Regions from separate parts of the Homo sapiens genome. Here region 2 is linked to region 1. The links are contacts of gene promoters, found by promoter capture Hi-C in human tissues and cell types (Jung and others, 2019). All regions are on one chromosome and are shown on one strand. The core of a region is centred on a gene start or on the middle of the fragment in contact, and the rest is flanking DNA. Distances in the headings are between cores, read along the strand shown.

The links. The method cuts DNA at HindIII sites, captures the fragments that hold promoters and counts their contacts. A contact is called where the count stands out against the background at its distance.
Region 2: a contact is called between a fragment that was not itself captured here and the fragment with the promoter of ZP4 in region 1, in 2 of the 25 tissues and cell types used here (adrenal gland and pancreas).

What each region holds. Positions count from the first base shown.
Region 1 is chr1:237,885,391-237,892,862 of GRCh38, forward strand. It overlaps ZP4 (zona pellucida glycoprotein 4), which reads right to left and starts at 5,532. Exons shown (of 12, transcript NM_021186.5): 1 at 5,071-5,532; 2 at 4,665-4,786; 3 at 4,477-4,579; 4 at 2,968-3,120; 5 at 1,984-2,171; 6 at 1,381-1,478; 7 at 366-496; 8 at 1-190. The coding sequence starts at 5,245. It also overlaps the pseudogene LOC100130331. The HindIII fragment of the contact is 12,268 bases long and covers 457-7,472 here.
Region 2 is chr1:237,963,733-237,970,319 of GRCh38, forward strand. No RefSeq gene overlaps it. Among named protein-coding and RNA genes, the nearest start is that of ZP4, 76 kb to the left of the region's middle. The HindIII fragment of the contact is 4,627 bases long and covers 1-4,064 here.

The sequences.
Region 1 (7,472 bases), core at 4,282-6,781:
CCCTTTACCAGGATGGGCCACTGTGGCTGACTCAGGGGGTCAGTGCTGGGTGTTGCCCAACACTGTTGTAGGAGCAGCCCCAGGTAGGGGTCTGTTCTGTGAAGGATGGAGACCTCCACGTAAATGGGATCCCGAAGCAACTTCACCACTGGGTAGTCACCAACACCGTAGTAAGAGCCATAGTTTTTATCTGCAAGAGGCAGAAATAAGGATTTGAAGTAGTAATCTCTCAGTGACTTGAGGGACTGTCACCCCTTTAAATAGCCCCAAGCCCCTTAAGTGTCTTGTTACTAACTTAGGGTCTTCATGCCCCAGAAGACTGGATTTAGACTATAGGCCAGATACTCCAGCCAAGGGGGTCATACCTTTGGCAATCTGAAGTTCCAGAGTGAGGGGTCCAGGCTGGGTCTCAGGAAAGGGTGGTGGGAGAGTGAAAACCTGGACATTGATTGGGAGAGAGTTGCTACTTACTGAGTAGCTGCAGCTGACATGGAGCCTGCAGAGAAACAAGATTTTAGCTAGTTGGTTGTGGGAAGTGGGTGTCAGTTACACATCCTTTCTTTTTAACTCAAGGAAAGCATTAAGTGCTAGACAAGTTTATAAGTGTGATGGATGTGGTTCCTGCCCTGCTGGGAGCTGTATTTTAGTTGGGGAGACCAATATACAAGTAGGACCAATGTTTGAGTTGGAGATAAGCACACAGAAATAAAGATGCATCATGAGAAACAGATGCTTGCCATAGAGAAGATCAGGGAAGACCTTAGAGGTACCCTTGATATGAAGGTGAAAGAAAAACTTGAGGTACAGGGAAAGCGTCACCCAATATAGAGCAAAGCCTGGAGGCAAGGAAGTGCTTGAGGCCCTTTGAGAATTCCATAGAAGAACCAGGCTGCAATCGGGGAATAGTGAGTAAGGGACTGAGAATGTTAGAAGTGAACAGGCTGGAGATGAAGTAGGAGCTGTTTTATGCAGGGTCCTGATGTTCATCTTAAAGATTTTTTTTTTTTGTCCATGGCTTTAAGGTGTGTGATTTGACTGACTTAAGGTTTTAAAGGAATTCTTTTGGCTACAGCATGGACAGTGGAGAAGGCCAGATGTAGAATGGAGAAATGTAGGCTGAAATGTAGAATGGAGAAGGCCAAAATGAGAAAAAAATCTAGTTAAGTGAAATAGCAGAACTCCAGGTGAGCTTGAGGCTTAGGTCGGGTTGGAGACAGCAACACAGATGGACCTAATCAAGTAATGGGCAGTGCAATTGGTGAACCAAGGTAGCAGACAGGTTTTCTCCTATTGCTGAGGAATGCTCATTTGTGGATTCAGGGCTTACCTGAGAATGCCCACCTTATGGCAGATGGGAAGTCATTCTGGCCAAGCCCTTACCTGAAGATGCTGTCACGAGTGACAGAGCCACGGCTCCCATTTTTCACATCCCTAGTTGCCACCAGTTCATTTTCATATACTGCTCGGTCTCCAGTGATCTACAGGAATAGATGGAGAAGTCTTGATCATTTCTGTTAGTGTTATGCTGCTTGACTTGCATCTGGTCTAAGCCCTCAGCAATGCTACCCTGTTGTATGGTATATTTCCTATTACTTCAGCAGAGGTAAGAACACATAGCAGTGACATCCTGGCAAGTTATCACTTCGCCTTATCTCAGGACAAAGGAATAAGAAGGAATTTGAGCACCTAGGAGAGGCAGCTGAAGCACTACCAATTCCAGTCAGCATCCCTGCTGGTTTCTTCTCTATAGCACGGTAAATGACAGCCCCTTAGCTAGATCACAGCTGTGATGGTCTTAGCTGAACACCCAGAAGAGATTAACTTTTTCAGTGATGAGGCATTCTCCTGCCCTAGGGACTCTCCCAAACTCCAAGTAGTAGTCACAAGTATCGTTCACGGCCAACATATTTCAGCTCTCCCCCACTAGTCACTACAACCTTCCCACCCAACTTCCAGAGCCAGGAACAAAGCCCAACTGCTCACCTGTCTTGTGGTGCCACAGGAAGTAAATGGAAACTGGAACAGAACAAAAGCTTGTGTTGCCATCACAGGGTTACACGCACTGTCATTCCTAAGGGCCAAGCGCACAGAATCCAAGAGCAGTGGTGGCGAGGTCACGTTCCGAGACACAGCAATAGAGAAATGGCCCTCTCGGGTACAATGCAAGGTCACTGAAACAGAGCAGCTGTGCTGAAGGCAGGTCATCTCTCCCATTGTGGGGAGAACCAGATGAAAGTCTAACCACTTAGTTACTTTTAATCCCACTGAGAAGCTGGTGACAACTTCCCAGTGACAACCTCAGTGCAAGATCAACCAACCACAGTTTAACCCAGGCTCTAAATGATCTGGGGTTGAGTCTTGCCTCCCTGACTTATTGTGTGACCTCAGGCAAGTATTGCACCTCCTTGCTTCAGTTTCATGTGTTAAGAGGGGGATAGTAGTTCCTACCTCATTTTGCTTGTCAGTTAAGATTAAGATCTTGGAATAGCGTGTGCGATTATTAGGTTGGTAGAGAAGTAATTGCAGCCTTTGCCACAATGGCAAAAGCCGGGATTCCTCCTGTACCAACCTATACATACTCTGAGGTCAAGTTTATGTTAGAAAACCTCAGAGCAGGATTAGAGACAAGCAGAAAGCAACAGCCTTGAAGTGACTCTCCCTAAACAATCCAAGACCATCAGCCAAAGTCGCTATAAGTTTCTGTCAGTTAGAAGTTATCTGGCACTAGCAATTATCTGGCACATAGCCTTCAAGTCTGAGCGTTATTGACTTTATATCTGGATTCTGGGAGAATGGACAGTGGGAGTTGTAGAAGTCTGTTACATTGGGATCAAGTGTTCTTGGATGCATGGCTACATGGCAGCCTGCTATCACTTGATGTTTGCCTTCTGAGCAAACCCCTCTCTGGGTTTCATTGTAATTGCCACACTTCCTCAGCTGGTTTCAGAGGTGTGCTCACTTACTCACCAGTGTTTCCATAGTAGCAGGAATTCACCTCTTCAGAGCTATAACAACAGCCTAGCCCTTCACAGTCTCCTCGAGAGATGGGTGAAGGTGCACATGGCAGTCTGTCCCGTGCTGGGATGGAGTCACACCAGTCAGTATCTGGAGCATCTCGGGCTAGGTTTTGAAAAAGAGTAAGTCAGGTTAGATAATGGAAAAGTTAGTCTTGAATACCATTTTGATACAAGTCATTGACTTTGGATTCCTGTAGATATGTAGATGATTGAAATAGGTGTCTACTCCATATTGTAGATAGTATTGAGAGGTTACATGTTGTAGATTAAGTCTTGGGAGGTTGTCAACATTAAGTCACCTTGTAAGAGTGCCCTGCTATTAGTTTTTTAAAAACAAGAATGTCAACAAAATTGGTAGAAGCAGTTGGGGGGTTTCTTACTCCTTCCAGTAACAATCCTTCCTTCTGTTCTTTAGAGGCGTTTCTCAAGCCTTAGTTTGGATATGAGTTATCTGAAGATTGTTTTTGAGTTCAGGTCTGGTTCAGAACTGGGGTGGGGCCTATGATTCCTCATTTTATTAGTGCTGCCCATCCTGGCTATGTATTGGGAAGGAAGGCAGGTGAGAAGAGTGAATTTATAGTTTGAGTCTGTTCTGACTTTGAGGACGGGCTCTCAGTCAGGCGAGACTTTCTAAAGTTGAGTAGGCATCATACTTCCTGCTGTTTCCTTAGGGAAATGCTCAGATACCCCTCCAGCTTGTGGGATGGAAGACCTGGGTCCTAGTCTCAGTGCACATCTAGCTCTGTGGAGGTATTTTTCCAAGTTCCCTTGCTAGCTTCAGTTTTATTTCCTATCATTCTCCCCATGGGTGAAAAGCTCCTGGTTCTGGGAGAGTTCTTTGAATCCCAGCTCAGTCATTCACCAGTGATAGGCCCTTGGGAAAACTTCCTGGCAAGAGATAGGTTGTATTTTTTTTTTTTTTTTTTTTGAGACAGGGTTTCGCTCTTGTTGCCCAGGCTGTAGTGCAAGGGCACGATCTCAGCTCACCACAACCTCAGCCTCCCAGGTTCAAGCGATTCTCCTGCCTCAGCCTCCCGAGTAGCTGGGATTACAGGCATGTACCACCACACCCGGCTGATTGTGTGTTTTTAGTAGAGATGGGGTTTCTCCATGTTGGTCAGGCTGGACTCCAACTCCCGACCTGATCCACCTGCCTCAGCCTCCCAAAGTGCTGTGATTACAGGTGTGAGCCACTGTGCCTGGCCAGCAGTAGTATTTGCAGCACTATGTTAGGGTTAGGGAAGGTAACACCTGAAGTGCTTACCCACAGTGCCTTGGCATTGAGGAGTCTCAATTGGTAGTTATCCTAAGGATTGCCCATGGAGGTGAGAGTTGGGACATGATCCTTCCTTCATTAGTGTCAGGTGTCACTGCACAGAGCAGGTCAGAGAGGACCAAGAGTACTTTCACACCCCACCCCCACCACCCCCACAAGACCCTGAGAGCTTCCAGCCTTTACCTAGAAGATCCATAGGACACTTGAGCAGCTTCCTCTCTGTAACCACCTTGTGTTCAGCCGCGCCTGCTCCTTCAACTCCAACTGGCATGATGTAGTGGGAGTCCTGGAGAGACAGGCCCTTGGGGGTCAGCCTGGATGGTAGCATGAGGCGCTTCACACAGTCTCCCTGGCCATTGGGTCATACTCACCCACTCAGTGACATAGCAGCTGCTATAGGTTGCCTCCAACACCACGGAGCTGCCTGGACCTTTTCTTATCCAGGTGCCACAGTCGGAGTCATTCTGCAGCTCGTGCAGCAGCCCTTGGTTGTCTGGAGGGGTGGGGAAGAGGTGAGAAAACACAGCGGTCAGTCTCCAGTGCCAGAAAGGATAGTCAGCCTTGCCATTAGACCCCAAGGAGCAACTGTCAATAAGAGGAACAAGAGGGAAATCAGATTCAGATCAGATGTAGTTATAACTTAGACTATTTCTTTTGCAGAAAGATGCAACAGGGCTCAGAAGGTGAAAGTATCAATACGGGAAGATAGGGAGACATCTTAGGTAGTAGAGGAGACATATCATTGCTTGGCTAAGCAAGGCAAGTCATCAAACTTACCCCAAGCTATTAGTACAGGAGGAGACGTTGCCTCCTGGTTGAGGTTTACAGCAAACTGGAAGCTCCACGGCCCACAGTGGAGCACACTGGAATAATCTGGTGCCTCAGGCTTATGCTGGCCACTCACAGCAAGAGATAATGAAACACACAGCAAAACGCACCGCAGCAGCCACATAATGCTACCAGGAGTTCCTGCCGGCTGCAGACTCTCCGCCTCCTCTCCCAAGAGCCGAGGGTCTGCCTGCCCAGATTCCTTTATATACAGAAGTCAGGCTTGTTTTCAGCTGCACATCTTTGTGACACTCAGGTGGGATGCCTTCAGAAAGGGGAATTCCTCTAGCCTCATTTGCTTTGGGGCACAGTCTGCAGCTGCCTCACATTAAATACCACAATCCAGGCAGACTTCAGAGCCCAAGAAAAATGTAGTAACTTTTAGCTAACAGAAAGGAAGGAAAGAAAGCTTCCTCAGGGTTGCTCAACATAGCATTTGTCCCACCAGTTTATTGAACTTATTGACTTCAGAAGACCTCCCTCTAGAATTTTGCACATTTGGGTGTGAAACTACCATCTATGAACTATGGGGTCTGGGTACGTTACAAACTCTCTGAATCTTGGTTTTCTCATCTGTAAAATGGGAATGCTATCTCCTGGCAGTGGTGTGCTTGAGGATTAAGCAAGAGATTCTATGTCAGGTGCCTGGCACAGTGCTTGGCCAAGCAGTGAGTGCTCAGTCAACATTGTCGGGTGAGAGTTGGGGCCCTTGAGAAGCCTTGTCACCTTCTCCATCCATTCTAGAAAAGTTTCTGTACGATTAGAGCCTGTCTTGAAATTCTAGAAAAAAATCTAAACTTATTTCCTGAGAAAGGTTGATTTTGAACCCTTTCCTGGTCCTTAGAGGGAATCCTACCACAGCAATCTTTCAACAAATTCCAAAGTGGTTCATTGCCATAACTGTCCTACAGTGTTTCCCCACAGGATCTGGGGGAAATGTGGATTAGGCCATGAATTCCTCAAACTGGTTCTGCCTCTTACAGCTATTTGACAATTTTATCTTTCGGCTGTGTTTCAGGCATATTTCATAAAGATGTCAGGGTTTCTTGCTTGCTTTCTACATTTTTGTTTTCCACATAAACTACAAGTTATATACTTTGGTCACTCTTTAAGCTAGAGTGTCAGACCAGATTGTAGAGAAATTCTAAGAGATTTGGGGATAAATGGATACATTCCCCACTGGAGAGGCAAGAGCATGGAAACTTGTCTTCTGCAGTCTGCCACCAATATTCCCAAATTGTACCCTGATTGTATTTAGACTGATATTTTTCGGTTGACTAAAAATTGTAGTCAAAGCACTGAGAATGTGTAACTAGGTATCTCTAGTTCTCTTCAACTCATCACAGAGGACAAATAAGTATGTGTCTTCCTGGGAAAATTGGTGGCCCTTTTAACCACATGATGAAAAATGACATTGAAGGAAAGCTGGACTCTGCCCTCAAAGACAGATGTGGCTTCCCTGACACCGTCTACCTGGATTAGGTGCTCACCACTGGGTTATTACATGCCATTTACTCACAGGATTTGCCAGGTTGGATTGTAATGACCTCTTTCTTATTCAGTTTGCCACTAGAAGCACGTGAGGCCAGGGACTTTTTTATTTGTCACTGCATCCTGCGTGCCTTGGATGTATGTACTCAGTGTTCTCTGAGTAAAGACTGAATCAATGAATATGCTTTCATTAGTGGCCATGTCCTAGGGCTAACCCCCTTGAAAATGTAGTTTCCAAACCTCACCGGTACAAATTCATTTCCTTTATGATGAGCTCAAACTCATAACCCTTAGGTATTTTTCCTTCAAGTAAATATCATGTGATTGCACATGTAAGAAAGAATCTGAGGATTTGACTCATGCAAGATGTCTCAGGAGTTAAAAGGCCAGTCTCCTGACTAGACTTACTAATATTGCTTTATGCTGAGACCAGCTCAGTCGGGGAGACCCTAACCCAGGGATGCTAGAGGAATAAAGACACACACACACACACAAATATAGAGGTGTAGAGTGGGAAATCAGGGGTCTCACAGCCTTCAGAGCTGAGAGCCTCGAACAGAGATTTACCCACATATTTACTGACAGCAAGCCAGTGATAAGCATTGTTTCTATAGATTATAGATTAACTAAAAGTCTTCCTTATGGGAAACAAAGGGATGGGCTGAAATAAAGGGATGAGCTCTGGCTAGTTATCTGCAGCAGGAGCATGTCCTTAAGGCACAGATCACTCATGCTATTTGTGGTTTAAGAACACTTTTAAGCGGTTTTCCATCCTGGGTGGGTCTGGGGTTCCTTGCCCTTATTCCGGTAGACCCATAACCTTGCAGCGTGGGCATCATGGCCATCACGACCATCACGAA
Region 2 (6,587 bases), core at 501-3,000, 75 kb after region 1:
TGAGCTGAGATCGTGCCAGTGCACTCCAGCCTGGGTGACAGAGTGAGACTCCTCTCAAAAAAAAAAAAAAAAAAAAAATCCAGTGGGAGGCCTCAGATAACATAGATCATACCTCGAGGAGGAAAGCAGGAGGGCATGAGTACCTTAGTTAATGGGGTCAAACTAAGCTCAGACCCAGGACCTTTATCCCAGCAGGGACAGAGGGAAGCTTGTGATTTTAAAGCTTCAAAGAGCAAGCAGCTAGTGGAGGCAGGCAGATCAGCAGTGTGAGAAGGTTGTGTCCATAGGCACAACAGCCTGGTTTACCCAGATGACAGGCAGAGTCTCTGACAAACAGGCAAAAGTCTGTCAGTGATGAATTGAGGTATTAGTTAAATATTGCCTTCTGCTAGGCAATACTGTCTCAATTTTGCCTCTTGGTATACTTGTCTGTCCAGACACTGTTACCAAACGGAACTGGGGTCTGCTCACTCACCAGGCACAGGAAAGCCAAACAAGCAGCACCAAGATTTTGCAGTGGGAGAAAGGAGGGCATTTATTTGCAGGGTGCCAAGCAAGGAGAATCAGGCAGCTAATGCTTAAGTCCCGACATCCCCGATGGCTGGCAAGCAATGGTTTTTATAGTCAGGAGTAAATTTCAGGAAAGCAGAAGTTACAGGCAAAATCATAAACCAATACATGGAGATTATACATTGGTTTGGCCTAAAAGGTAGGATATCTTGAAGTCAAGAGGGGGTATTCCAGGTCATAGGTGGATTCAAAGACTCTCTGATTTGTGATTGGTTAAGGAAATGAAGCTTTGTCTAAAATCTTGAGGTCAGCAGAAAAGAATATTAAGGTCTGTTCTACGGGTGTGACTTCCACCAGGCCCCTCAGGAAGAAATTTAGAACAAAGAAAGGCAGTCAGAGTTCAGTCTTCAGTTCCCTCTCACGTGAGGTCTGTGTGCCAGTGAATCAATTTGGTGGGGGTCCAGGTTTCTGAAAAACAACTCAGGGATGTTAGATTTTTATCTTTAGTTTCTTTTTCTTTTTTTTTTCTTTTTTTTTTTTTTTTTGAGACAAGGTCTCACTCTGTTGCTCAGGCTGGAGTGCAGTGGTGCAATGCAATCACGACTCACTGTAGCCTCGATCTCCTGGACTCAAGCAATTCTCCCACCTCAGCCACCTGAGTAGCTGGGACTACAGGTGCATGTCACCATGGCCACCTATCTTTAGTTTCTATAGGGAACCAAACATTTTGTGATTCTAGCTTCCTTGGCTATTGTTTTAAGCTATTATTACTTTCTTGCTTATCAGGTTGCTCATTTACTTCTCGGAGCTGGCTAGGTGCCTGGAATTTCCTTGAAGGAACTCAAGTTTTTCCTTTATTTCCTTGCTTGCCTCCTTGCCCTGGCAAGCCTCTAAGAGGGGTCCCTGCTCCATCTCAACACCATCTCAATACCTTCTCAAGAGCAGAGTTGTGTCTTATTCTTTGTGTCTTTACCCTCAAGCATAGTTCTTGGCATAGGGATGTATTTAGGACATTTAATGAAATTACTTCAATCAAGGACTGACTCCGAGGCAATGAACCAGGGGCTTCGAGAAGCAGAGGCCCCCAAATCTGGAGAAGACCTGTGACAAGACTAACTCAATGCTGGGCATGTGCATAATTGCTCTAGGACTTATGTCAACATTTGGGGTCAGGATTGGGCCTAAACTCTGGAATATGGCTATACTCACAGATGTGTAGTAAAGAAACCATAATAGTGGGAATCTGATTGATAGAATTTTTTTTTGTAATGACTATCTCAAAGGAGATAAAAAGCAGAAAATATGATTGTATCAGTTACCTTTTGTTGTCTAACAGTCCATTCCAAAACTTAGTGGCTTAAAATAATAAGCATTTGTTATAGATTTGTAGTCAAGACTGGTTCAACTGGGGCTTGATAGTGTCCAGTGGCCTCGCCCACACATATGGCATTCAGAGACTGGTTGATCCCAAGAGGAGGCCTCAGTTGAGGCAGCCTATCACTGCTGCATAAGGCCTCTCCTCTTTCAGCAGGCTAATTTAGACCTTTCACATGATGATTTCAAGGTTCCAAGTCTCTGCTTATATTTGCTATTGTCTCACTGGCCAAGTCAGGATAAGGGCCAAGCCTACATTCAGGTGGAAGAGAAATAGAGTCCAACCCTTGGTGGGAGAAACTACAGAAATCACACTGTAAAGAACTGTGCTTACAGGGATGGGAAGCATTTAGGGCCACCTTTTGCAACCTACCTCAATAATTTTGTAGGTACTGTTTATGTTTCAGTTGTACAGTTTTATAAGGAACAGAAGAAAAAGAAGATCAAAGACTAGGAGATATTATAGCAAAGAAAATATTCTGTAGGAGGCAAATTAATAATGTGAAAAATACATTTATTTCTTGTAGTAACGTAGGCATGATCTGGGGGGTCTTGGCTTTGCTAAGTAACATATTTGAGTTAATGTGCTGGCTATTTCTGTAATTTTTGACAAATTAGTTTGGTGTCTGCCATGCTTCTTCACTGTAGAATTACTCTTTTTCCCTTTCTATATTTTGTTCTTTGGAATTGAGTCATTAAGTCCTGCCTACCTTCTAAAAAAGGAGAACATGGATGGAGCTGGAGGCTATTATCCTTAGCAAACTAACGCAGGGACAGAAAACCAAATATGATTGTATTCTTGCTTATAAATGGGAGCTAAATGATAAGAATTTATGAACACAAAGAAGGAAGCAACAGACACTGGGGTCTACTTGACCCCAGGAGGGTCAGGGGAGGGAGAGGAGCAGAAAAGATAACAGTTGGGTACTAGGCTTAATACCTGGGTGGTGAAATAATCTCTACAACAAACCCTCGAGACATAAGTTTACCTGTGTAACAAACCTTCATTTGTACCCTTGAACCTAAAAGTTAAAAAGAGAAAAAGAAGAGAATTAAGCTTCACTGTCCATAGGGGCAGTATGTACATATATTATATGGAATTCTTCTGCAAAGAAGAGTTGTTCTCTTTTCTGATTTCTTTTTAATGTCTCTGGGATCTTAGGAATGGCCTCCTTTTCATTCTTGAGATTATTTATACTCTCTTTCTTTTTTTTGTTTAGTCCTGTTTGGGTTTATACATTTTATATACCTTTGAAAAGAAACAACATTAGTTTTAATGAAACTCCGTTTCTATTTTTCTCTGTTGTATGTTTGTTTTCTATTTATTTTCTTTATTGTTTTATTGATCCTACATTCTCTGTTTTACATTTGCTGTTTATTTTCTAGCTTTTGGAGTTGAATTATTAGTGCATTGATTTTTCAGTCTTTCTTCTTTAATAATATTTTTATTTAAAACTACAAGTTTTCCAGAAAGCATGGGTTAAGCTGCAGTCCACAAGTTTTGGTATGTCTTACTTACACTAGTATTTAGTTAAAAATACCTTGTAATTTTCATTGTGATTTTTTTCTATGACCCATATCTAAGATTGTTGGTTTCCAAATATTTGAAGATGTTCTGGCTACCTTTTTGTTATTGAATTCTAGCTTATTCCACTATGCTTGGAAAAAATAATCTATGAGATTTCAATACTGAATATTTTGAGGCTTGGTTTAGGCCCCATTTATGGCTAACTTCAGCAAATGTTCTGTGTATATTTTAAAAGAAGGTGTATTTGACAGCTGTTCGGTGTTCTTTTCTTTTATGAGCCCAAAAGTATCTGAGACAGGTCTCAATCAATTTGGAAAGTTTATTTTGCCAAGATTAAGGACGTGCCCCTGACAGCCTCAAGAGGTCCTGACAACATATGCCGAAGGTGGCTGGGGTACAGCTTGGTTGTATATTTGGGTTACATTTTAGGGAGACATGAGACATCAATCAATATGTGTAAGATATACATTGGTTCAGTCCACAAAGGCAGAACAACTTGAAGTGGGGGTCTTCTAGGCGGTAAGTAGATAAGAGACAGAAGGCTGCATTTTTTGGGGTCTTTGGCCAGCCTTTCACTAAATACACAATTTACATGTGGGAGGGGTAGAGAAATAATCACTTATGCCCTAGTGTGGCTCAGTGAATCAGAGTGAATCTCAGTGAATGATGTAAATTTTTATATAAACAATAGGGTAGAGGAAACAATGTGACAGGCATTTGTCTCAGGTGAGCAGGGGGATGACTTTGAGTTCTGTCCCTTGTCCCGCACCTGTGAAGATAAGCTACCAATTTTTACATTGCGGGGGAAAATCCAACAGAACTTTTTTACGGTAAAGATCTTGTGGGCAAATTGTGAAGGAGTTATGTAGCTTTTTCTTTTCTTTTTTTTTTTTTTTTTTTTTTTTTTTTTTTATCTTTTAGCTATTTTTTTTAGGAATAAAATGGGAGACAGTTTTGCCCGACACAGGTCCCAGCTTGACTTTCCCTTGGCCTAGTGATTTTGGGGTCCCAAGATTCATTTTTCTTTTACAATATGTTAATCATAGCATGTATGTTAATTGTTTTAATTTTGTGTCTCTTCTGACTTATCTATTTTCTGTCAGTTTCTAAGAGAAGTGTGTTAATATCTCTAACTAGAAATGTACATTTGTCTACTTCTTTTAAGTTGTGTTATTTTAACTTAATGTATTATAGGCTATGTTATTTGGTGATTACAATTTTCAGATTGTTATATCCTTATTTAGAATTGACCATTATAAACCATCTTTTTTGATACTTAACAATACTTCTTCCCTTAAAATGTACTTATCTAATATTGGTAGAGTCGTGATCTTTCTTTTGATAAGTGTTTACATAATAAATCTTCTGTTTGGTTTTTTTTTTCCTTCAAACTTTCTGTGTCTCTCTTATAAGCAGCACATAGTAGAAGTGAAAATAAAAAACCCTAAATCTGGCCAGGCGCAGTGACTCACACCCGTAATCCCAGCACTTTGGGAGGCCAAGGCAGGCAGATCACTTGAGGCCAGGAGTTCAAGACCAGATTGGCCAATAATGTAAAACCCCATCTCTACTAAAAATACAAAATTAGCCAGGTGCGGTGGTGGGCACCTGTAATCCCAGCTACTTAGGAGGCTGAGGTAGGAGAATCACTTGAACCTGGGAGGTGGAGGTTTCAGTGAGCTGAGATCTTGCTACTGCACTCCACACTGGGCAACACAGCGAGACTCTGTCTTAAAACAAAACAAAACAAAAACCCAAATCTCCAGTCTTACAAGCTTTTTTATTGGAGTACTTAAATTACACATATTTGGTAGAATACTGATGTAATATTATTTATACCTGTCATCTGTTTCTTTTTTATTTGTCCCACCTGTTCTTTGCTTATTTTTCTCATTTCTTGTTTGTTTTTAGATTAGTCAAGTTGCTTTTAATTATTTTATTCTCCTTCTTTCACTTTATAATCATGCATGCTTTCATTATACTTCTAATGTTATTACAGAGATTAAAATATACATCACCTCAAAGAGTTTTAGTCTGGCTTGGAACTATATAAAATATAAGTTAGATAAGGTGATCAAACAAGTTTGCTGCTCAGACTTGCAGCAAATTGGACACTGTGAGTTTGTGAAAGCAAGAAGAGACAGTATTTATAATCATGCTGGGACAACAGACGCCAACTAGGCCTATCCTGGCCCAACTTCTTCCTATGGTTTTCTCTAGATAAGGCACCAGGTAGTTAATAAAGTCACCATGTAAAAATCACGGACTGCTTATTTTAATCAAGGGGTAGTTCTAGATGCTGGGAGTCAAATAAGATAGTTTCTCCTTGCAGTATTTCATATTATGTTTTTAAACCTTAAAGTCCATATATCTGAGTCTTTTCCTTGTATTCTCAGAAAAAAAGTGTGTGTACTTTGGGGTGGGTAGAAGTAAGAGAAGAGTACTGGGTAGACAGAGAACCAAAGTGGAAAGAGGGTAAATCCAAGGAGGGGGAAACCCATGAACTGGTGCATGGTGTAGGCAGCTTAAAAATGAAGGATGAGGAGAAACGGATCACAGATAGCTGAAAGTTTTTCTAAACTATGAAGCTCTTATCTGGGAGGAAAAAGGCAAGAAACTCCTGGAGAGGGAGCAAGTTTAGGAAGCTACCAGGGTGAGGAGAGAGGAAGGCTAAGAACACAATCAAGATTCTTGAGGGAGAATATAAGGCCAGGTGTGGTGGCTCACGCCTGTAATCCCAGCACTTTGGGAGGTGGAGGTGGGTGGATCACTTGAGTTCAGGAGTTTGAGACCAGCCTGGGCAACATGGGAAAACCCTGTCTCTACCAAAAATACAAAAATTAGCTGGGCATGGTGGCATGCGCCCATGGTCCCAGCTACTCGGGAGGCTGAGGTAGAAGAATCGCTTGAGCCTGGGAGGCTGACATTGTAGTGAGCCGAGATGGCACCACTACATTACAGCCTGGGTGAGAGAGACCCTGTCTCAAAAAAAAAAAATTATTTAGGGAGAACATAGACATAGAACATAGACTCTGAGAAAGCTCCACAATCTGTTGAGACTCTGATTATGCCCTCTAGCCAGGATGATACACAGAAAAAAGACTCTATTTTTTGCAACACTGTTTCTTTCCCCCAAAATCATTATTAGAGCACAGTTGATTATGAGAGCTGCTTT